2 separate regions of the Homo sapiens genome follow, and region 1 is linked to region 2. Evidence: promoter capture Hi-C in 16 types of primary human blood cells and fetal thymus (Javierre and others, 2016). All regions are on one chromosome and are shown on one strand. The core of a region is centred on a gene start or on the middle of the fragment in contact, and the rest is flanking DNA. Distances in the headings are between cores, read along the strand shown.

Region 1 (5,694 bases), core at 2,867-5,366, 62 kb after region 2:
TATAAGTTTTTAGAATGGGACAGAACCCTGGAAATAATTCTTTTTTTTTTTTTTTTTTTTTGAGACGGAGTCTTACTGTCACCCAGGCTGGAGTGCAGTGGCGCCGTCTTGGCTCACTGCCAGCTCCGCCTCCCAGGTTCACACCATTCTCCTGCCTCAGCCTACTGAGTAGCTGGGACTACAGGTGCCCGCCACCGCGCCTGGCTAATTTTTTGAATTTTTAGTAGAGACGGGGTTTCACCATGTTAGCCAGGATGGTCTCGATCTCCTGACCTCGTGATCCGCCCGCCTTGGCCTCCCAAAGTGCTGGGATTACAGGCGTGAGCCACCATGCCCAGCGAACCCTGGAAATAATTATTTCCAGTTCTTTCATTTTGCAGATAACTCCACAGAGATTAAACACCTTTTCTAATTCAATGCTGTTAGTCATTAGTTTAAGAAAAAAAAAAGAAAGAAATGAAATACATAAAGGTACATTGTCCTTATTATCACAAATTTATAATTTACATGAGGATAAGAATAGTTATAGGCTGGGCACAGTGGCTCACGCCTATAATCCCAGCACTTTGTGAGGCCCAGACGGGTGGATCACCTAAGGTCATGAATTCGAGACCAACCTGGCCAACGTGGTGAAACCCCATCTCTACTAAGAATACAAAAATTAGCAGGGCGTGGTGGTGGATGCCTGTAATCCCAGCTGCTCAGGAGGCTGAGGCAGGAGAATCGCTTGAACCCAGGAGGTGGAGGTTGTAGTGAGCCAAGATCATGCCCCTGAACTCCAGCGTGAGTGAGAGCACGAGACTCTGTCTCAAAAAAAAAAAAAAAAAAAAAAGAGTAGTTATAATACAAGGCATAATTTGATACATTGATACATTTTTAGAGAGTACCTAGGGTTGATAACAAACTGATATGATTAGGCCAGGCAACCTCCTCCATGTACTCCTAGGTCACATTCTCAATGAGGCCTTCCCCAGTCAAGCTATTTAAAAATGCATACCTTCCCTCCTCCTGTGCAGCCCATCCTTGTTTATTTTCTCCCCACCACTTATCGATATCTAATATATTATTTATTTTACATATCTGTTTTGTTTATTGCCTGTTTCCCCTACTAGAAAATAAATCTCTTGAGTTTATGAAGACGGGCTTTTCTTTTGTTCACTGCTACATATTAAGCACAACGACAATGCTTGGCTGCAGAACAGGCAACACGTAACTGCTGGATAAATGAAGGAACACTAGCGACTTGTCTGTCTAATCTCTGCTTAACTTCAGGTCTTATATTTTCAAGTGGTTTGTTAGACAATTCACTCAAGAACTGTTTGAACACCAACCATGTACAAGGCACTCTCCTAGGTTACCTGGGGCTAATACTATCCCTCCCTCTCCCCTAGAGTAGACATTGTATGCATTTATATTCCTATAGCATGTACTCTACCATCAATTACCATGTATCATTGGTTTTGTGCATACACTAGGTTGTAAGCTTCATAAAACTGAAAATTATCTTGTTCATCATTGTATTCTTAGAGACTAATACAATGCAAAGTACATAATATGCTTTTAACATATATGTATTTATTTATTTAAGAATTTACATACAGTAAAATTCACTCTTTTTCTTAATTTTATGATTTTGGCCAAATGAATAGAGTTGTGTATCCAACACAACAACCAGTTCCATACACACAGGGGAACATAAAGAAGAATCACAGCAAATTTACTGTTAAGCCATAAGACAACAGACAAATGCCTCCAAAGTACTCAGGAGAAAAAACCCAAAGAACCAAAACAGTCAACCAAGGATTCTATACCCAGAATGATATCTTTCAAAACCAAAAATGAAATAAAGACTTTTAAGACCAAAATCATAGAAAAAGCTAAAAATTCCATTAAAAGCAGAATATTAGGCCAGGCACAGTGGCTCACATCTGTAATCCCAGCACTTTGGGAGGCCAAGGCAGGATGACTGCTTGAGCCCAGGAGTGTGAGACCAGCCTGGGTCACATAGTGAGACCCCCATTTCTAAAAAAATTTTTTTTTCTAATTGAAAAAAAAAAAGCAGGCCTTCACTACAAGAAACAACAGGATTGGCTGAGTACAGTGGCTCATGCCTATAATCCCAGCACTTTGGGATGCCAAAGTGGATGGATCACCTGAACCCAGGAGTTCAAGACCAGCCTGGGCAACATGGCAAAAACCCATCTCTACCAAAAATACAAAAAATTAGCTGGGCATGGTGGTGCATGCCTGTGGTTCCAGCTATTCAGGAGGCTGAGGTGGGAGGACCACTTGAGCCTGAGAGGTGGAGGTTGCAGTGAGCCGGGTTTGCACCACTGCACTCCAGCCTGGGCAACAGAGTGACACCTCATCTCAAAAAAAACAAAAACAAAACAAAAAAAAAACCCAATAGGATTGAGCAAATGAATAACTTTGTTGATATTTCTAGGAGCCAAGTTTCTCAATATGGAAGAAAGGACATAGAAATGTGAAATGATAGTATGTATATAGACACATAAACACATACATACTATAAACTGGGGATAAGCTAGAGTAGAACTGGAGGCCTTGGTGTACACTCATAATTTTGTAAATATTTATAGTCATGTGTAGCTTAACAACAGGGATACATTCTGATAAATGCATTGTCAGATGATTTATTCACTATAGGAACATCATACAGTGTACTTAAACCTAAATGGTACAGCCTACTGCAAACCGAGGCTATATGGTATGGCCTATTGCTCCTAGGCTATAAACCTATACAGCATTACTATACTAAATACTGTAGGCAATTGTAAAACAATGTTAAGTATTTGTGCATTTAACATATCTAAACATAGGAAAGGTACAGTAAAATACAGTAATGTAATCATGAGACTACCTTTGTATATGCAGTCTGTCACTGATCAAAAAGTAGTTATGCGGCACATGACTATTTGTGCACATGAATATTATATGAATCATGATTTCTTACATACAGGTTTGTGTGTGTGTGTGTGTGTGTATATATGTATAAATACATATTTCCTAGTACTGTTTGTTGAAAGAACCAAGAAGCAAAGACACTCCAATAGCAATGAACAGACCTAGTGTCAGATCTCAGTCTCTAATGCCATTTCCCACAAAAAGAAACTCTGGTTCCTCAGATAAATTGCTGAATCTACACCTAGGGCAGGACAGGTATATTGTGAGCCTGGAAAATCTTTTAATGACAGAATATGAGGAAGTGCTCAAAAATATAATAAGGAATTAACACATGGATTCAGGAGCCGGCTTAAAGAGATTCCCTCTGATCAAATCCGGGACACTTTGAGCACCAAAATAAGATTAAGAAATTATAAATCGTTGGAAAAAAAAGAAATGAATGAATCCATACATATTATAAATATGGATACATATACATACATAGAGAATGGTGATCTATTTCTTAAGCATAATGCCAAATGCCTACTGAGAAATGTGGAGGAAGTGCTAGAGTTGAAAAATCATCATTTTGCAAACATCATAGTAGAGAGTAGATAAGGTAGGAATAATCATAGATGCTAAATTGAGGAAGAAATATTAATAAAGAGTAGTAATTGTGTGGTCATCAAGTCTGTCCCCACAGATTGCATATTGGAGCCAAAGGAGAAAAAATTAGTTATCATATAGTGGAGAAATACAACAGTTTCATTGAGTGAAAAACTTAATATCACCTATGAGGGACAGCTATGCTGAGAAGGACAAAATATCATCTATGCAGAATTTGCCTAAGAAGGCATAGCATCAACTGATCACAATAGATGATCAAAGACAAAATAAGAAACATTCTATTGGGGGAAAAAAGTAGAAAGAAAAAGAAACAAACAAAAAAGTGGAAAGAACTTTTTTTTTAGAGACAAATCTTGCCCTGTGGCCCAGGCTGGAATGCAGTAGCTTGATCATAGCTCACTGCAGTCTCAAATGATACTCTTGCCTCAGCCCCTCAGGTAGCTAGAACTATAGGCATGCACCACTATGCCAGGCTAATTTTTTTTTTTTAACTTTTTGAAGAGATAGAGCCTTGCTCTGTTGCTCAGGATGGTTGCAGGAAGAGCTTTTTAAAAAGATGACAAAGTGAAACATGGCAAAGAAAGGCTAGGGAATAACTCCAGATTAAAGGAAACTAAAGAGACATGACAACTAAATGCAATACTTGAATTTATTTTATCTTATCTTATCTTATTTTATTTTATGATGGAGTCTTGCTCTGTCACCCAGGCTGGAGTGCAGTGGCACAATGTCAGCTCACTGCAACCTCCACTCCCCAGGTTCAAGGAGAAAGAAAATGCAATGTAAGATATTATGAGATCAACTAAGAAAACTGGCATATGGAAAGCATATTAGATAAAAGTATCATATCAATGTCAATTTATGAAGTTGATCACTGCACTGTAATTATATAAGGGAATATCTCTAAACTTAAAACTGCACATTTGAGCCGGGTGCAGTGGCTCATGCCTGTAATCCCAGCACTTTGGGAGACCAAGGTGGGCGGATCACTTGAGGTCAGGAGTTCGAGACCAGCCTGGCCAGCATGGTGAAACCCCATCTCTACTAAAAATACAAAAAAATTAGCTGTGCGTGGTGGTGCATGCCTGCAATCCTAGCTACTCAGGAGGCTGAGGCAGGAGAATCACTTGAACCTGGGGAGCGGAGGTTGCAGTGAGCCAAGATTGTGCCACTGCACTCCAGCCTGGGTGACAGAGCAAGACTCCATCTCAAAATAAAATAAAATAAAATAAAATAAAATAAAATAAAATAAAATAAAATAAAATAAGGCCAGGTACGGTGGCTCATGCCTGTAATCCCAACACTTTGGGAGGCTGAGGTGCATGGATCACTTGAGGTCAGGGGTTCGAGACCAGCCTGGCCAATACGGCGAAACCCCGTCTCTGCTAACAATACAAAAATTAGCCAGATGTGGTGGCATGTGCCTGTAGTCCCAGCTACTAGGGAGGCTGAGGCTGGAGAATCACTTGAGCCTGGGAGGCAGAGGTTGCAGTGAACCAAGATCTTGCCACTGCACTCCAGCCTGGGCAACAGAGTGTGACTCCATCTCAATAAATAAATAAATAAATAAATAAATAAAGTAAAATAATAAAAATACACACTTAAGTATTTATGGGAAATGAGCCATGATACATGCAACATGTCCTAAAAAGGCTCCATATCAAGAACAGCAGCAGAAACATTAAAAATCTAGATAAATATGGCCGGGGGCGGGGGCTCACGCCTGTAATCCCAGCACTTTGGGAGGCCGAGGCGGGCGGATCACGAGGTCAGGAGATCGAGACTATCCTGGCTAACACAGTGAAACCCTGTCTCTACTAAAAAATACAAAAATAATTAGCCGGGTGTGGTGGTGGGCGCCTGTAGTCCCAGCTACTCGGGAGGCTGAGGCAGAAGAATGGTGTGAACCCAGGAGGCAGAGCTTGCAGTGAGCTGAGATTACGCCATTGCACTCCAGCCTGGGCGACAGCAAGACTCCATCTCAAAAAATAATAATAATAAATAAATAAAAATAAAAAATAAAAATCTGGAGAAATATGACAAACTATTAGCCTTTTCTTAAGTTATTTAAAGTATGTATGACAGTTGAAGTAAAACATTATAATGTTATCTAATGGAGTTTTATTATTATCATTATTATATTTTGAGACAGGGTCTCAGTCT
Region 2 (5,502 bases), core at 812-3,311:
CTGCATTTTATGCTTATTTATGTTTATTTTCTGTTTTCCTTCTCTATAACAGAGACTTTCACTGCTGAGTCCCAAGCATCTAAAATCTGCACAAAGTAGGTGTCCAGTGAATAAAGTGGAACAAATGAGCAGAAAATTGTAATGCTTATTATGTTAATTAAGCAGGTCTCAGGAGGGCCTTTCCTAGCCAGTCCTGTGTCACTCAGCTTTGAGATACTGAATCTATTTCAATCAAAGTATAATCATAGCATATAATTTACACTTTTCAACAATTCAACTCCTTTTCTCCCCAATTGCTACAATTATAACCACTTAACTAAAACAGTGAACTATTACAAACTCACATCCCCTATTTTTTCCTTTAAGGCCTGACTCTAACTACCACCACCTCCCCCCATCCCCATCCCTTGCCACCTTAAACCTCCTAGATAGACACTGCCAATCAGTTTAAATTTTCTAGACATTTTTATTCTGTCTGCTCTAGTTATCTACTGATTTTTCTTTCACACTTGTTAAAAACATGAATAACATAATCAATATCATAAATCCAAATCACAGAGTTAATGAGAAGTTATATAAACATTAGGCTGTTGATTTTCAGTTAATCTTCCAAAAGGACTGTGAAGGCCTATAAAACAATTTTTTGAAAAAGTACACAGATTTGCTCTCTCTTCCTTAGTGAAAGCCTGAGTTTTAAGAACAAAGACACTAACAGAAAACATATGGAAAAGATCAGTAACAAGATGGAATCTTGGCTAAAGTGTGGTCTGCCACGTTTTTCATACCAATGTCTCAAATAATAGACTAGATTTTTACAACTGCCAAAGCATCACTTGAAACACTGTATACTTTTCTTAATGCAAAGTTTAACAAAATAAATCTTGTGAGTTCTTTGTAAAAAGCTAATGGAAAACACTTTTTTGAGGAAACAAAATGAACTCCAGGATTCACTTTATCTTATTAGTTTGTAAAAGCTTAAAAGAATTCCCCCCCAAAATGAACTCCGAATCTACTGCCAAAAGACACAAGTCAACTCTCTGTTTAGAATATGAGAACAGTGTAAAAATTAAACATTAAAAACAGTTAACTGTTACTATTCAGGAGAGATAGCTCTATGAAATGAAGAAATTTTCTAAATCTACAAAATAAAGGCAATAGCTATTGAGTAACATAAGCTTTTCATCCCATTTTATTCAATACTACAGAATTATTTTGTGCAATAGTAAAAACAGGCAAATTGAAGATACACCTTTGGAGTGCAACCAACTGACTAATTTTATCTGAAAGGATATTAGAAGTCATTCTAGTGGGTACATCTGCCAAAAAGAGGAGAAATGAGATAGCTGATAAAAATGATGATAAAAATGAAGATGTAAGCCTTTGTATAGAAAAGTCGTATAGTTAATCTGTGTAAGCAATGACAATCAAGTGCATTTTAAAAATAAACAATGCGAAATGTTATGTTTCTAATCCTGATTTCTTGTTTTAACAAATAGAAGTACTGATATGAACCTAGGTGTTGAATAACCAAGGGACTCAAGAAATTTTGAGTTCCAGGCCAGGCGTGGTGGCTCATGCCTGTAATCCCAGCAATTTGGGAGGTGGAGGCGGGAGGATCACCTGAGGTCAGGAGTTCAAGACCAGCCTGGCCAACATGGTGAAACCCCATCTCTACTAAAAATACAAGAAATTAGCCAGGCATGGTGGCTCATGCCTGTAATCCCAGCTACTTGGGAGGCTGAGACAGGAGAATTGCTTGAACCCGGGAGGTGGAGGTTGTGGTGAGCCGAGGTTGCACCACTATACTCTGGCCTGGGCAGCAAAGCAAGACTCCATCTCAAAAAATTAAAAAAGAAATTTTGAGTTCCACCTTAAGTTGCTGAGACTCTGGAGTTCCCTGTCACAGTGGGCCTTAATTTGAAGAATTCTTTGGCATGAAAATGAAAATAAAAACAGTAATCAGTACATGCTGTTTCATTTAGTTTTGTTTGCCTTTCACATTAGAGGAAATTCTTGCCACACCTCAAACCAAAATTAAGGGGAAAAGAAAGAAGTAAGCCACATAAATCTGACCAAGAACACAAGCATCTTAATTTGAATCCACAAAGTTTCATGTAATGAAAAGAAATACATAATTTTAATTCAACCCGAGTGTTTTCCAAGAAGATTGTATTTGCTTAAATTGCTACAGTAATTCAAGAGACAGCCCTGTCTGGACACAGAGTTACTGTGGATTTTTAAGAGACTCAGTTAAAGAATTTAGGAATTTCTGATTCATTTAAAGGATTTACAAATTCATCAACCCCTGAAAACTAAAGCAAATTGAACAGGTATGATAATAAAATAATTTTCAATTTTTTAAGAATGTATTCCTACTGTTAAAATTTAAAAGTATATTGGATTTTTTAATATTAAAATAGACTGCATCTATTACAAAAGCACAATTTTTGGAAGCAAAATCTGGTAAAAAAGTTATGTTAAACTTTTGATTAGGCAAAATGTTCAAATAAAGTAGTATAATGAGTTTAACTTTCTCATTTAAGATTTACCCAATAAAAAATCTTTGTTTAGATTTTTTTTTACTTTGAATGAAAGGAAAGATTCTCAGGTTAAAGGAATCAATCTCTTTCTCTTCCTTAGGTCTCTTTTTTTCTATGAATTATAAGTAACAAAGAACCAGCTAATGCCTTTGAGGCATACAGCTGAGCAATGCTAGTGATTCCGGTTGGGGGGTTGATGGGCATTTGTACAAATTTCACTCAAGATTTTCTCCAAATTTCTCTACTGACTAAATCCCTGATATAGAATGTTTTTCTTTTCATTTACTTCTTTCTCAAAGGGAAAATACAGATGCTCTATCTAGTCTATTGAAGGATCTAGTTACTTTGGGTTTTAGTTAATTACGATTTAAATGTATTATGGCTAAAAATAATTGAGGTAATTGTATTTTTAATAGCAAAAAAATTTTATAAAATTAAAATTTAGAACTTTTTTGGAAAAATCTAAATTATATGCTAATATTTGCTTTCTTATATGCTAGTTTCTATGTCATACAAATAAAAACAATTATGTCTTTAACATAATAAAATGTTGAGGATTTTACTTTAAACTTTTCCTGAACAAGTAAATTATACCTCATTAGTAATTTCAATTGAAACTTTTCTTGATGAACACGAGTGCTTTTCTCCAAGTAAGAGAAATATTATGACACAGATGGTTTTATTGCTATAATATGAAAAATTCACATTGAAAACTGGTAATATATATATATTACTTTGCTCCAAACATTCTTTTTCACATTTGTTCTTTTCCTGCTACACGATGTACTAGGAAAGTGAGGAATACAGTATATTGTGATGAAGAAATATTCAATAGAAAAAGGAACAGTCAAGCTCTCATGAATATGTTCATTTGAAGAAATTATCATAGTGAAATAAATGCCTAGGAATAATCAACATTAGTAGAGAGAAGCATTTGCTAGCAAGCCTTAACCTATAACTTATTAACTTATTCATTCAACACACCTTTGAGCACTTATAACACTGCATTGTATTAGATTCTGTTAAAAGATATTAGGAAATGAGATGATCAACAATGAATTATACAATATTGCTGTGAGTTATCCTATAGAGAACAAGGCATACATTGTAGAGTATGAAAAGCAGAAGTAACAAAAATATGCTTAGCAAATGACTCAGAAGAGATTAGTTGGGGAATGAAAAATTTGGATAAAATAAGAGATTGTTGTAACAGGGGAAATTATCCTGGGGAAAGAGCAAGAGGCATAGAAAATAATGAGCATATAGATGAAAACAGGATGGATTTCAAAACAGAAAACTGCACTTAATCAAAGGGAGTGGGACAAGATTGTACTACATGGTTAGGAACGTGGAGGGAGGAGGACAAGGATGTTTAAGATAAGTTCAGGTTTAGAAGAGAAATTGTTCCTCAAGGAAAGACTTTCTTCTTAGGTGCTCACAAAGGCGGAAAGCAGACAATATTAAAAACCTCTTTATTTTCAGAGACGCCCCAGTCATGTCTTGATTCAAGGCCTTCTTCTTTTTTCCCAACAATTTTTCATAGTTGTTGAACAACAGACTCTAATTCTCAAATGTAAGGTTGATAACTGATGATTAGCTAATGTTCTCAACAAAGGGATAAAATTCAAGCTGAGTTTTCAGCCAGGCAGGTGGCTCACACCTGTAATCTCAGCACTTTGGGAGGCTGAGGTGGGCGGATCACCTGAGGTCAGGAGTTCGAGACCAGGCTGGCCAACATGGCAAAATCCCGTCTTAACTAAAAATACAAAAAAATGTAGCCAGTCGTGGTGGTGCACGCCTGTAATCCCAGCTACTCAGGAGGCTGAGGCACAAGAATCACTTGAGCCTGGGAGGCGGAGGTTGCAGTGAGCCGAGATTGTGCCACTGCACTCCAGCCTGGGTGACAGCACGAGACTCTTGTCTCCAAAAAAAAAAAAGTTAATATGTTATACTATAATAAGTACAATAAAATATTATAAAATTATACATAAAATATCATCAATGAGTATAAAATGTATAGAATATTCTATATCCATTCCTATTAATCTCCCAAAGTCTGGGTCAAATGATGTCTACAAAAGACTTTCCTGTCTCCGTAAGGCTGAGGTAAGCCACTGGCCCCACAGCATTGCCTATCTCTGCTATAAAGGATATTACCCTCTGCCTTAGATTAGGGTTCACTTTGTTGTATCTCTCTCCTCCACTAAGCTGTTTGCTCTTTACAGAAGGGACTATGGCTTCACGTCTTCTTCATTTCTGTATTCTCCACCAACTTAGCATAGTGCCTCATCACTAGAAATAATTCAGGACAACGGTAAACTGATGTAACCCAATCAAACTAACTACTAATATTTGTAAAGTGCTTCACTAAGCATGTTTACATACAGTAAAGTAGTAGAGTACACTAGGTGAATAAGCATTTCCAAGCAGACCCACTGGGAGCTTCCAGCCCAGCAAGGAGAGCCTGCTCTGAACACTGCCCTTTGGTATGATACCATAACTCCTTAAATCTACCTCCTTCCAAGATTCTCTACTTTTTCACCCACGAACACTGACTGTAGTGTGAAATCACAGCCCAAATATGTTAATTCATTAAATTAGGCATTCATTCCCAGAGTGCAAATTCCTCAGGTCAGAATTTAGGCCCTCCAAGGCCGGGGGTGGTGGCTCATGCCTGTAATCCCAGCACTTTGGGAGGCTGAGGGGGGCAGACTGGTTGAGCCCAGAAGTTCATGACCAGCCTGAGCAACATGGCAAAACCCTGTCTTTACAAAAAATTAAAAAATTAGCCAGGTGTGGTGGCACGCATCTGTAATCCCAGCTACTCAGGAGGCTGAAGTAAGAGAGTCACTTGAGCCCAGGAGATGGAGGGTGAGCCAAGAGTGCACCACTGCGCTCCAGCCTGGGTGACAGAGTGAGACTGTCTCAGAAAAAAAAAGTTAGGCTAATCCCTTCAGATCTG

What was found. Contacts are between HindIII fragments. The CHiCAGO score rates a contact against its expected background, and 5 or more counts as called.
Region 1: a fragment that was not itself captured here is called in contact with the fragment with the promoter of OMD in region 2 in 1 of 17 cell types (megakaryocytes); the score reaches 5.4 in megakaryocytes.

Annotation. Positions count from the first base shown.
Region 1 is chr9:92,360,545-92,366,238 of GRCh38, reverse strand. The region is part of intron 4 of CENPP (centromere protein P); the gene reads right to left. Among named protein-coding and RNA genes, the nearest start is that of CENPP, 37 kb to the right of the region's middle. The HindIII fragment of the contact is 5,261 bases long and covers 1,486-5,694 here.
Region 2 is chr9:92,421,030-92,426,531 of GRCh38, reverse strand. OMD (osteomodulin) reads left to right here and starts at 2,061. Exons shown (of 3, transcript NM_005014.3): 1 at 2,061-2,330. All of the region lies in intron 5 of CENPP (centromere protein P), which reads right to left. The HindIII fragment of the contact is 8,215 bases long and covers 1,178-5,502 here.